4 separate regions of the Homo sapiens genome follow, and all the other regions are linked to region 4. The links are contacts of gene promoters, found by promoter capture Hi-C in blood cells and fetal thymus (Javierre and others, 2016). All regions are on one chromosome and are shown on one strand. The core of a region is centred on a gene start or on the middle of the fragment in contact, and the rest is flanking DNA. Distances in the headings are between cores, read along the strand shown. Region 1 has its middle 7.5 kb from the start of TLR4. Region 2 overlaps TLR4 (toll like receptor 4). Region 3 overlaps RC3H2 (ring finger and CCCH-type domains 2). Region 4 holds the start of CDK5RAP2 (CDK5 regulatory subunit associated protein 2).

What was found. The method cuts DNA at HindIII sites, captures the fragments that hold promoters and counts their contacts. A CHiCAGO score of 5 or more calls a contact.
Region 1: a contact is called between a fragment that was not itself captured here and the fragment with the promoter of CDK5RAP2 in region 4, in 2 of 17 cell types (M0 macrophages and M2 macrophages). The highest score is 6.1, in M0 macrophages.
Region 2: a fragment that was not itself captured here is called in contact with the fragment with the promoter of CDK5RAP2 in region 4 in 3 of 17 cell types (M1 macrophages, M0 macrophages and total B cells); the score reaches 9.8 in M1 macrophages.
Region 3: a fragment that was not itself captured here is called in contact with the fragment with the promoter of CDK5RAP2 in region 4 in 2 of 17 cell types (fetal thymus and total CD4 T cells); the score reaches 5.8 in fetal thymus.

Annotation. Positions count from the first base shown.
Region 1 is chr9:117,695,304-117,698,557 of GRCh38, reverse strand. No RefSeq gene overlaps it. Among named protein-coding and RNA genes, the nearest start is that of TLR4, 7.5 kb to the left of the region's middle. The HindIII fragment of the contact is 3,453 bases long and covers 1-3,254 here.
Region 2 is chr9:117,716,606-117,719,472 of GRCh38, reverse strand. It overlaps TLR4 (toll like receptor 4), which reads right to left. Exons shown (of 3, transcript NM_138554.5): 3 at 1-2,867. Among named protein-coding and RNA genes, the nearest start is that of TLR4, 14 kb to the right of the region's middle. The HindIII fragment of the contact is 2,234 bases long and covers 489-2,722 here.
Region 3 is chr9:122,901,966-122,904,855 of GRCh38, reverse strand. The region is part of intron 1 of RC3H2 (ring finger and CCCH-type domains 2); the gene reads left to right. Among named protein-coding and RNA genes, the nearest start is that of RC3H2, 1.9 kb to the left of the region's middle. RefSeq lists a silencer at 1-42. The HindIII fragment of the contact is 766 bases long and covers 915-1,680 here.
Region 4 is chr9:120,578,823-120,581,905 of GRCh38, reverse strand. It overlaps CDK5RAP2 (CDK5 regulatory subunit associated protein 2), which reads left to right and starts at 1,739. Exons shown (of 38, transcript NM_018249.6): 1 at 1,739-1,986. The coding sequence starts at 1,928. RefSeq lists enhancers at 1,522-1,651, 1,505-2,067. The HindIII fragment of the contact is 6,111 bases long and covers 1-3,083 here.

The DNA.
Region 1 (3,254 bases), core at 448-2,947, 2.9 Mb after region 4:
TAATATAGAAAAGGTGTACTAGCCCATTCTCACACCTCAATGAAGAAATACCCAAGACTTGGTAGTTTATTTAAAAACAAAACAAAACAAAACAACAACAACAACAAAAAAGAGGTTTAATTGACTCACTGTTCTGCAAGGCTGGGGAGGCCTCAGGAAACTTACAATCATGGTGGAAGGGGAAGCAGACATGTCCTTCTTCACATGGTAGCAGGAAGGAGAGGTGCAAGCAGAGGAAATGCCTGGCACTTATAAAACCATCAGATCTCATGAGAACTCACTCACAATAATGAGAACAGCAGCATGGGGGTAACTGCCCCCATGATTCAATTACCTCCCACCAGGTCCCTCCCACGATATACGTGGCGATTATGGCAACTACAATTCAAGATGAGATTTGGGTTGGGGCACAGCCAAACCAAATCTGAAGGCTATACTTTAAAATATTTCATTATCCTTTTTACTTTCTGGCATCATCATTTTTTGTGGGTGTCACTAATTTTTAACATCATTGAGTTTCCTTAAACCATACAACAAAAATAACACTATGGCCTAATTAATAATATTATCTGAGGGGTAAATGAGATCTTGTGTGTGGATGTATTTGTAAATGTTACAACTTTACACAAATGTTGACCATAATTCATTCATTTATTTATACACCAAATATGTATGGATGGTTAACATTTTGCCAGGCACTGTTCTGGGCAGAAGACTACAACAGTGAAGAAAGCAGTCCCTCTCACTCAAGTTGAATGTATATTCTAATTAGTAGAGAGATGATAATAATTATAAATAAGTGCATTATATAGTAGGTCCGAAGATGTTAGGATCTATAGACAAAAATTTAAGAGAGTGAGGGGAATGAAGAGTGGTGTGTGGTATTGGAGTTTTATTTATTTATGTATTTATTTTCTCTCTATTTATTTATTTATCTCTTTATTTATGTGGGTTCATAGTAGGTGTATATACTTATGGGGTATATGAGATGTTTGATACAGGCATTCAATGTGAAATAAACACATCATGAACAATGGGGTATCTATCCCCTCAAGTCCTATTGTCTGAGTTACAAACAATCTAGTTACACTCAAATTATTTCAACATGTACAATTGAGCTATTATTGACTTTAGTCATCCTATTGTGCTATCAAATATAGGACAATCAGTGTGGGTCTTTTTGAGAAAGTGATATTTTGAGCCAATTCTGGAAGGAGTCCCTGGCTATGCAGATACTTTGGAGAGAAACACCCCAGTTAGAATAGTAGTTCTCAACTGGAAATGATTTTGCCCCAGGGGGCATGTTGCAATCTCTTGAGACATTTGTGTTTGTCGTAACTTGGGGGTTGGAGGTGTTGCTGCTGGTATCCACTGAGTAGAGGCCAGGGATGCTGCTAAACATCTCACTATGTGCTAGATCCAGGACAGTCCCCCAGCCTAAAATATCAGTAGTGCCAAGGTTGAGAAGCCCTGAGTTAGAAGGATAAGCCAGTCCAAAGATCCAGAGACAGGAAGTGCTAGAACCAACCAGTGTAGAGAGGCACACGTTGCCAGGTAGATTACTTAGGGCATTGTAGGACATTGTTAAGACTTTGCATCTTAGTGATACATGCCCAACGTCTCCAAGTAGGCATTTGTCACCTTTTCTTCAGTCCTCCCACAGCAACCATCTCTCATGTTCAAGAGGGATTATCTTTCTTTCCCACTAGGCTTTTAGCCCCCTTATGACAGAAGCCAAATCTAGTGCATCTCTGTACACCCTATGCCTATCACAGTGCCCAGTAATACCTAGGAGAAGTTTAATGCATGTTAGTTGTATCAGTGATTGTGAAGATAACTCCTGGTAATAGTCTCAATTGACTTGGGTCTTATTTCATATACAGGCTAATAAGATCCAAGTGAGGACAGATTGGATCTGTTACATTCAGAGTTGTAGCTAGTGTTTGTTTGTTATCAGTACATGATAAGTGCTCAATTAACATTAAATGAATGCAGGAATTAGTAGATTATATGTAATCAGCCATTTTTTTTGATGACTGGTCAATCACATTTCTCCTCTTTTTAGCAACTTCCACTGAGAAAAAGAAGGAAAAATCTAAAAGGAATTTATTCTGTCTTTTTCTAGAAGACAACCTGTGATGAAATACTTTGAGCTGGTATCTGACACAATCCTAGGCTAGACTTGCAAGTCACCTTATAACACATCACTGTGGACAGCACATGCTTGCGTAACCCAGAGGTGTATGACATGTGTTTTTGGAAGGAATGGGGTCAGGGCATGAGTAACTTACATTACTTGTCAAGTAGCTGGTTTATTCTACAATTACTCTTCTTTTCTTCTACCTTCCATTCTGGAGAAGTCTATGAATCTGGAAGTAATCGGACTGGGAAATGATGGACAAATATGCAAGTTGGGCAAATACACATGGAGCACAGAAAAGTATCTAGTGTGCAATTTCCTTGAGGTTCAAAAGATATATTCCAATCTATACATAGTCCAAAGAATGGTGCAGGATTCACAGCAACATCCCTAATAAAATTAACTTTTTTTTCATTGATCCTCGGGATGTCCTCAGCTTTATCCTTAGCTTTTGTGAGAGACCTCATGTGAGCTACTTCTTCTGCTACAGAATTGTGTTCCTCTCAGACTCTGCTCCTTACTTGCTGTCTCCCACCCCGACAGACTTTTGATCCTTAACTCTTCTTTTCCTTCTGAAGTATAGGCATTCTATTAGCCACAAACTTCAACATGAGTTGTTAGTTATTCTCTGCTTGGCTTGGTGTTGTTAATGGGTAGAAAGACAAAGAATCTACAAATTCTAAGGAGTAGTGGATGATGTTAAGAGGCTGCCTTGGTAGAATGACCACCAGGTGAGCAGAAAAATTAAAGTAAACTAAAAGATGGGGTGCTTACTGAAGGTGAAACTCTTCCACCAAAATTTTTGTATTTTATGCTGTATGAGTACCTGCCTCCTCTCTTTCTTTGAGTCAACATTTAAATTTTAAAAAAAGAAAAAGAAAAAACCCTCCTAGTGCCTTGGTATTAGAAGGTTGGAGCTCTAGTGAGAAGGAAGATACAGAGATAAAGATAAAAAATAAAAGGTTAGATGTGACATTATGGGAAGGAATTGCATTCAGGGTAACATAAAAGTATGTTGAGAGTACTAAACATAAATATGCTTCAATTTTGACTCTGCCCTTTTGATTTATGCCAAAGCAACCATATCTTTTTCCTTTAGCTCCTCTAGAGCTCA
Region 2 (2,867 bases), core at 356-2,855, 2.9 Mb after region 4:
GTGAGATAGGAAGTTTTATGCATTTTGTGAGAGCAGGGTGCTCTTGCCATAGAACAGTATTTAGAAGCCCTGCTTCTGCGGTGAAGTGGACTTAGATCCTAATCTCAGTGCTGCCACCAATGAGCAGGTGACAGTGGACACATGACAGAATGACTCCCAGACTCAGACTCCTCATTTGTAAATTGGAAATACTTTCGTATCTTTCTAATTCATTGATGTGACAAACTGAGATAGCACAAATAAAGCCCTTGCATAAAACAATTGATCAATTAAATGTAACTATTGTAACTATCAACATTATCATTTTAACCAAGTGAGGTCTGCCAACAAGGTATTATTACCTCCATTTCATGAATTAAGACCTGAGCCTCAAAGCACTTGAATGACTTGCCCACAATCACACAAGTAAATGGAGACACTGGCTTAGACTTTGGTTTTCACTCTCCCAGGGAGTTCACTGTCACATATTGTGTGAGTTCATTTAAGCTTCTCCAGGAGCCTGCTGATGATTTCTAAAAAGTTTATAGAGTCCAGAAGAAGACTGGGGTCTGACAATCCCGTGAGTAGAGAATGAATCAGAAAGAAATGTCTAATTTTAGTTACAGTCACTTCTGTGGTTCCACAGGCTGGAAAAATAGCAATTACTTTAGTGTTGTTACTGAGAAGACCTCCCAGTGCTTCTCCTAGTGCCCTCTTAATAAAGTCTTAGGGGAGTACTCACCCATAAGGACAGTGTCCCCGTATTGAACATAATACATGATTTTCAATCCTTAGAGCAACCTTACAAAGTCATAGTTCTATTCTTATTTTACATTGGAGCTAAGTAGACTCTCAGAGAAATGGAGCCCAAGGCACACAGTTGATAAGGAGTGAATTTGAGTTTTGGCTTTCTCCAAAAGCCACGCTACTCAAAACACCAGAAAAATGGAAAGCACTGTATTAACGCTCATTCTCGGTGTCTTTCTCTCCTCTTTTTATTCTATGTCCAGATTTTCTACTTATTATTGATTAACCCTATTGTTCACATATCCTTTGTTTGAAGCTCCTTCAAGTCCTTTATGGAAAGATAGGGTTATAAATAAATCATTTGGTATGTATAACATATATGCATATGTATTGGCTTAATGATTCATGGCTTCAACTGAGAAACCCTTGCTAGTGTCAACCACACAGAAAACTGCAGGAGTTTCACTTCCTGTTTTGCCAACTTTAAGCATGAAGCAATTGGGTGTGGAAGAAAGAAAGTGTCCTTGAGTGACCTGGAGGCCCAGGCTCAGGTTTTGTCACTTTCCTACTCTGTGGGCTATTGAAAAATTTACTTCATTGAACTTCAGCTTTCCCATCAATAAAATGGAAAAAGTTAATTATGATTTGCTACCTTACTCAGCTAATGAGATATTCAAATATATAGTTTTGTGAATATGTTTCAAGTTGTAAGGTATCACACAAATTTAAGGCATTACAATTGGCATTAATTTATCCTTATTCCACCCTTTATCCCTCTTAAATCCAGAGGATTTAAAGAGCTAAAAAGAGGCTGGCTGAGGCCTGACTTTACTCTTTCTTCTCCTTCTGTTCTATGCATATAATTTCTTTCCCTGCTTGTCCACCTCACCTGCCATTTCTAGAATTTCCATCTGGGAGAGGGAACTGATAGGAAGGAGGCCAATGTCAGCCTTGAATATTTCGGCCTTGAAATATTCCAAGTTGTATGTTGATCTTCCTTCTCAGAGCCTTGTACATTTGCTTGAATAAACACACTTATGCAGAATTCATATTCAAATATGAATAGAACCACACTTACATGTAGCACGGATATACACAAAATCATACATTTTCAAGCATACTAAGAAACTGAGGCATACATCTGTAGATAAACAATCATGTATGTATGTTAGTTCCTCACTTATCCACAGTTTCACTTTCCCAGGTTTCATGGTCAGTTATGGTCTGAAAATAGGTGAGTACAGTACAGTAAGATATTTTGAGAGAGAGAAAGAAAGAGATCACATTCACATAACTTTTATTACAATATATTATTATAACTATTCAATTTTATTGTTAGTTATTGTTAATCTCTTACTGTGCCTAATTCAGAAGATGAACTTTATCTTAGGTATTTATGTATAGGAAAAAATATTGCATATATGAGGTTTGGTACCATCTGCGGTCTCAGAGATCCACTTGGGGTCTAAGAACGTATCCACCAAGCATAAGGGATAAGGGGAGACTACTGTACAAGCACAAGAGTAGAGAACTCATCTCAAACAGCCATAGACATCCATTTCAAATGGATGTATTCTTCAAGAAATATAATCACACTCTCTTCTATACAGATATGATCATGCGGACACACACACTTTCAAATACACACAGCCCTGATAGGGATACATAGGGATATGTGCACAAATGCACACATCTACTTTCACTAGTACATGAGACATGGAAACACACCCAGGGATGTTCAATCACCCTAGACCTGCTCAAACCAAACACACTCTGAAACACTCAGTAACAAACACTTCTGACTGTGGTCATATTTCCAGTTTTGACAACTGAATTTTGTTGTCTTTTCTTTTTTATAGCTTCATTCAGACATAATTGATATTATAAAACTGCATATATTTAATGTATACAATTTGATGAGTTTAGACATAGTCACATACCTGTCAAACCATCACCACAATCAAGGTAATAAATATATCCATCACCTCCAAAAGCTTCCTTGTGTATATGTATATGGTAAGAACACTTAACATGAGAGGTACCCTCTTAACAAAATGTTAAGTGCATAATACAGTATTGTTCATTATACGAACTCTGCTATACAGCTGATCTTTAGAGCTAATTCATCTTGCATACTATAA
Region 3 (2,890 bases), core at 48-2,547, 2.3 Mb before region 4:
GACGCCTCTGACCCCTAACGAACCCACCCAAGCAAAGGCCCGGCTTCACTCTCCCTTTTCTACACCAGTTAGTAAGGGGGTTTGGAAGAGGTCCTCGAAACCAAGTCTTCTCCTAGCTTTTCAGCTTTCTGCCCTGGGGCTTCCCGAGACCCTAGCGTAGAGGGTGGTGGAGGCGATCTGAGTGGTAAATAGGAACCCCGGCCAAACAATGCCCTGGGAGGGCTTAACCTCCCAGGATGGGGACGGCCGGACCTGAGTGGTTGCACAGGGGTTGTGGCTAGGAGCAATGGCATGAAACACAGCCAGGAAATTCTGCTATGGCTTTCTTCTTTCCCTCTCTCATTTTTCCTTTTTGGTGTAGCCTCTTGAGGAGACTCTTCCACCATCTTAGAAGAATGGTAGAAAGCATCTTTGTTTCCCAGAGAAGCAGCTGTACTTTTTTCTATCCTTAGCTTTCAGGATGGGAGAAGATGAGGGTAGCTGTCATTTCCATCCTTCAAATCCCAAGGCAGCCGTTTAAGATACCGGCAGATAAATCCTTCACACCAAAATTGACTCAAGTAATCACTGGCATAAAGTAAATCTAATCCAGTGATTTATTTATATTTTCATAACCCTTGGGTTCCCTTTTTAATTCCTCCTCTCCCCTTACCCACGGCCTTCCTTTTTTTCATTTCTACTCTCCCCCTACCCATTGTGGGTGGGTGAGTTTGTATCCCAAATAAAGTGCTTTAAGTAATCTTTTTTCCAATTTTGTATTGGCCAAACTTTTAAGTTCCAGTAGGAACTTTTGGTTAACCTGAGAAAGCTAACGTTGCTATACCACAGTGGTATAAAGTCACTCAAAAGCAAAGAAACAAATGTTAGCCAGTGCAGCCTTTTAATGGTTAAACATACAAACTTAGTTAAAAGCTTTTTACGATATTAAGAATATTAATAGATTCTCCTTTTTAAAAAACCTTTTAGCTGTCTAAAAAGCTATACCACTGTTGTAGCTTCACATGCCTTTCTTACGTTGTTTACTTCCACGTTCAATTTTTGAAGAAATAGAGGTCGTTACATCCTGTTAAAGACTGCTTTTCAATATTGACATTTTCGTTGATTTGGAGATTAATGTTTTCAAAATTTTAGAGTTTGGAAAATTGCTAGGAGGACAGAATGTGAAACATATTCTAGTTACGTTTAGAAAAAGCAGATGTTATAATTCAAACAGGCACTTGTTCTATGAGGATTTAATTACACTCGTGTTCATTAGTGGATCCTTTGAGTTACCCCTGATCTGTTATTTCTGTTGTGGTAACCTGACATGTAAGAAGACTTACGTCCTTTGTTCATATATTTTTGTTAAATCATACTCTGCTTTTGTAATTTGCTGTCTTCCACTTTGAAAAAACCAAAAATTTGCATTTTGGCAAAGCATTCTTCTTTACACTCAGGATTTTATATTCAAAAGTTGAACTTCTACATTGTTTGCAATAGCTAAGAACGCTAAAAAAAACTTCATAACAAGGTTTTAGTAACTACTTACTGTTTAGTTTGTACCGTGTTGAAGTTTCACTTTTTAGTGATGGAAAAAGGAAGCATGGGTAAAATAAAGCTAGCTGAAAATTAAAAATAAGTTCATGTTTTGCATCCAGTCTCATGAATGTTATGATCAGCGTCTCTAATTTTACTAAAGCTTTAAGTGTAAGTGTGAGTTTTACCTCAATTTCCTGATAAAAGTTCTAAGTATTACTTTATAATTTAAATATTCTAGAGTTGCACTGTCCAGTACTAGCCAGTGGCCACATGTGACAGTTGAAGATTTGAAATGTGGCTTCTGTGAATTGAGATGTGCTTTAGGTGTAAAATACCAGATTTCAAAGACTTAGTACCAAGATTTTTTTTAATATCTCAGTAATTTTAATATTGACAACATGTTGAAATGATATTTTGTATAAACTGGGATAAATAAAATATATTACTAAAAATAATTTTAGCTATTTTAACTTTTTTTTTTTTTTTTTTGAGACAGTCTCTCTCTATCACCCATGCTGGAGTGCAGTGGCACCATTCGGGTTCACTGCAACCTCTGCTTCCAGGTTCAAGCAATTCTCATGCCTCAGACTCCTGAGTAGTTGGGATTACAGGAAGGCACCACTACACCAGGCTAATTTTTGTATTTTTAGTAGAGATGGGGTTTTGCCATGTTGACCAGGCTGGTCTGGAACTCATGACCTCAAGTGATCCACCCACCTCCCGCCTCCGCCTCCCAAAGTGCTGGGATTACAGGCGTGAGCCACCACGCCTAGCCTCTTTTAACCTTTTTTAATGTGACTACCAGAAAATTAAAAATTACTCGGATTATAATGGCTCACATATTTCTATCGGATATTACTGTTGTAGATCAGCATTACTCTTCCAAGAAATATGTTAGTGGAATAAAAGTAGATGTATAAAAACCCAAAACTTCCAGATAGATTATCCTGTTACAATCAGAATAATTAAAGAGCTAAGGACTTTGGTAATATGAAGGATGAAGTTATCCATTGGCTATGATTTGATAGGCAGAAGTAAGTTCTATCTCAAAGAAAGTATTTTTCTCGTCATCACTAATATTAGTTATACTTGTTAAAATAGAAAGTTGGCTGGGCGCGGTGGCTCACGCCTGTAATCCCAGCACTTTGGAAGGCTGAGGCGGGTGGATCACCTGAGGTCAGGAGTTCGAGACCAGCCTGACCAACATGGATAAACCCCATCTCTACTAAAATTACAAAAAATTAGCTGGGCCTGGTGGCGCATGCCTGTAATCCCAGCTACTCCGGAGGCTGAGGCAGGAGAATCGCTTGAACCCGGGAGACGGAGGTTGCAGTGAGCCGAGATCGCGCCATTGCACTACAGCCTGGGCAAC
Region 4 (3,083 bases), core at 490-2,989:
ATATGAATCTGGGATACACAGAATTACTATTGACAGAGGTCCTAAAAGTATCTCTGATTATTCTCACAAAAACCTTGCAGGATAGGTATTGGCCTTATTTCCAGACTGATTGATTGAATCACTCATTCATTTAACATACATTTTCAAATAGCTGCTGAGTGGCAGACATAGTGCTAGGTGTTGAGGATATAGCAGTGAACAATTCAGAATATAGTCCCTGCCCCATGCAGCTTCCAGTCTAGTGCAAGGAAAGACATTTAAAAAATGATTTTACACACACACACACACACACAAATTGCAAAATATGGTAAGTGCCACAAAGGAATAATTTGCATTGCTAGGAATACAAGAAGTGGCTTGATTTAGATTAAATGACTAGGGAAGGCTTCTTTTGAAAAGTATCAATAATTGGTTAATTACTTAACTGAAGAATGAGGGCCTGGTGCAGTGGCTCAGGCCTATAACCCCAGCACTTTGGGAGGCCAAGGTGGGAGGATTGCTTGAGGCCAGGAGTTCAAGACCAGCCTGGGCAACATAGTGAGACCCTGTCTCTATTTAAAAAAAAAAAAAAAAGAATGAGGAAACAGGGTGAAAGGGGAATTGTTCAAGATTACTGGGAAAGTCACTATCTATCCACTCACCAACCATTTCAAGTTATTTTCATCGGGCTCTCTCACAAGGGCCTGCAGAGGAAGGAGCAACACTGAGTTGAGGAGGGGAAGGTTAATTTCATTGCTTAAGCTCTGCCAAGATTATCTAAGTGTTTGGTGATTGCTATGTGCTTTAAGAAAGGCAGCCAAGGGGCCGGTGCTGTGGCTCACGCCTGTAATCCCAGCAGTTTGGAAGGCCGGGGTGGGCAGATCACGAGGTCAGGAGATTGAGACCATCCTGGCCAACATGGTGAAACCCCGTCTCTACTAAACATACAAAAATTACCCGGGTGTGGTGGCGCAAGGCCGAGGCAGAAGAATCGCTTAAACCCAGAAGGTGAAGGTTGCAGTGAGCTGAGATCGGGCCACTGCACTCCAGCCTGGCGACAGAGGCACCATTTCAAAAAAAAAAAAAAAGAAAGGCAGCCAGGGTTATGCAGAGAGCCCTCATCTAGTTGGCAGGAGCTGCAGACCCCCACTCCAGTTGAAAGACATTGTCAATACTTAATTACTTTGGGAGAGTCCTTTCCTCTTGCTGGCCCTCAGTTTTCTGACCACAGGTGCCTTTGAGTCCTAATGGTAATAAAAGACCAATAGGTGAGAGACTGGAGTGGGAGTGCTGTTGACCACTGGCTCATGGGAATGAGTTATTTGCTTCAAACTAAGTCTGCAAATTACTGTTTGCCTTGAGATTCCGCACGTAGTATTTTTCCAAAGCAAGGCAGCACTCAGTTATCTGAGTTTCAACTTAAGGTCAAATCCCAAAGTTTTGGGGTCATTATTCTAGAAAAGCAAACACGAGGTTAGGAACTTTGAGGATTCCTGAGTGGCTGTATTCATTTCCATCTCCCGCGTAAATTAACGGACTAGGGCCCGCTTTGGCCCTCAACAAAGATGGCACCCGCCCTCGCCTCTCCCTAAGTGCCCTCACAAAAAATGGCAGCCGGCCTTTTTTTGTCTCTTATTTTTGCTTGGCTTAAGCACGGATGCTTTGCCCTTAGTTAAGATGGCACCTATCCCCGCTTCCCTGCCCGTCCTCTGGCGCCAGCCGGTCGGCTTCACTGCGTGCGCCTCCGTGACCCCGCCTCGTTTCCGTAGGAAGAAGCGCCGGGAAAGATGGCGGCGTCTGTGGTTTGAATTCCAGCGGCGCCGCCAGAGTCTGAACAAGAGCTGGGGTGGAGGGGGCGGGGACCTGGGGAGCCCGGCGGGTCGCTATCGCGGGGGGTACTAGTGGCGCCGCCGCCACAGACACCAACGCTGTCGCCACCTCTGTAGCCATGATGGACTTGGTGTTGGAAGAGGACGTCACCGTCCCTGGGACGCTCAGCGGCTGCAGGTGCGGCCGGGGCATTGGTGGTCGTGGTAACCGGGCCGGGGTTCCAGCTGGTGGGATTTCGTTCTAACGCGGCCTTGGGGTTTGCTCTTGAGGGTGTCTGGCCAGGGGCAGTGTGTGGGGTGGGTTCCTTCGGAGAGGGTCTCTGGGGGGCCCACCACCTGACACTCTGGAGGGCTGGGAGCCGCGACCTGCACCACAATTGCCAGTAGCATTGCGCCATGTACTTTGTAGAGCGTGTGAAGAACAGGTAAGGAGTTTTCTGAAAGAGTAGGACGAGGGTGGGGCCACTTGGAGTATCCCGTTAGTGGGGATTGGTGGAGAACAGGGACCTTGAGGGCACCTGATGGTTCCTTCTGGTTTGAGAGTTTGTTTTCATTATGGAGAGAGTGTAGCCGGTATGCCCAGACTTTGCTTTTTGGGTCACATAGTGGCCACCCAGGAGGCAATGGAGTGCAATGATTAAGAACCTTGGCTAGAGTTGGACAAAACTGGATTCAAATCCAGCCCTGTAAACTGACTAGCTGTGTGACCTTGGTAAAGTGATTTCACCGGCTTTCCCATCTGTAAAATGGGCTAGTAATATCCACCCAACAGAGTTGGGGTGAGGATTAAAAGAGGTGATGCCTGTCGAGCCATTTGCTTGGCAGGTGTAGTGCCTGCCACATAATCAGTGCTTAAAAAATGATCTTGTGTTGCCATTAGTGTCATTATTACTACTGTCATCAAAGGTGATATGAATCAGGGAATAATGGCCAAGAGTGGCCTCCCATGGACCTGCCCCAAGAGACTGTGGGAGTCCCCATTGCTGGTGGAGCTGGGGTCTGGTAGGAAGGCCTAACAGAGCGCAACTCTGCTCCACGGCTGGCCCCTGTGGTTGTCCTAGACTCCTGGTTGGAGAGTGAGTAGAGGGAAGAGGAGGAGAGCCCTGACGGAGAACCTGCACTGTTTATCCAGCTCTACTATGGACAAGCTGCTGCTTTTAGTCAACAGATCCTAATTGAAAGGGTGACCATGTTATTTATTGTGCTAACTGGGACACTTAAGAGTGAAAAGAGCCAGGTGCGGTGGCTCACCTGTGTAATCCTAGCCCTTGGGGA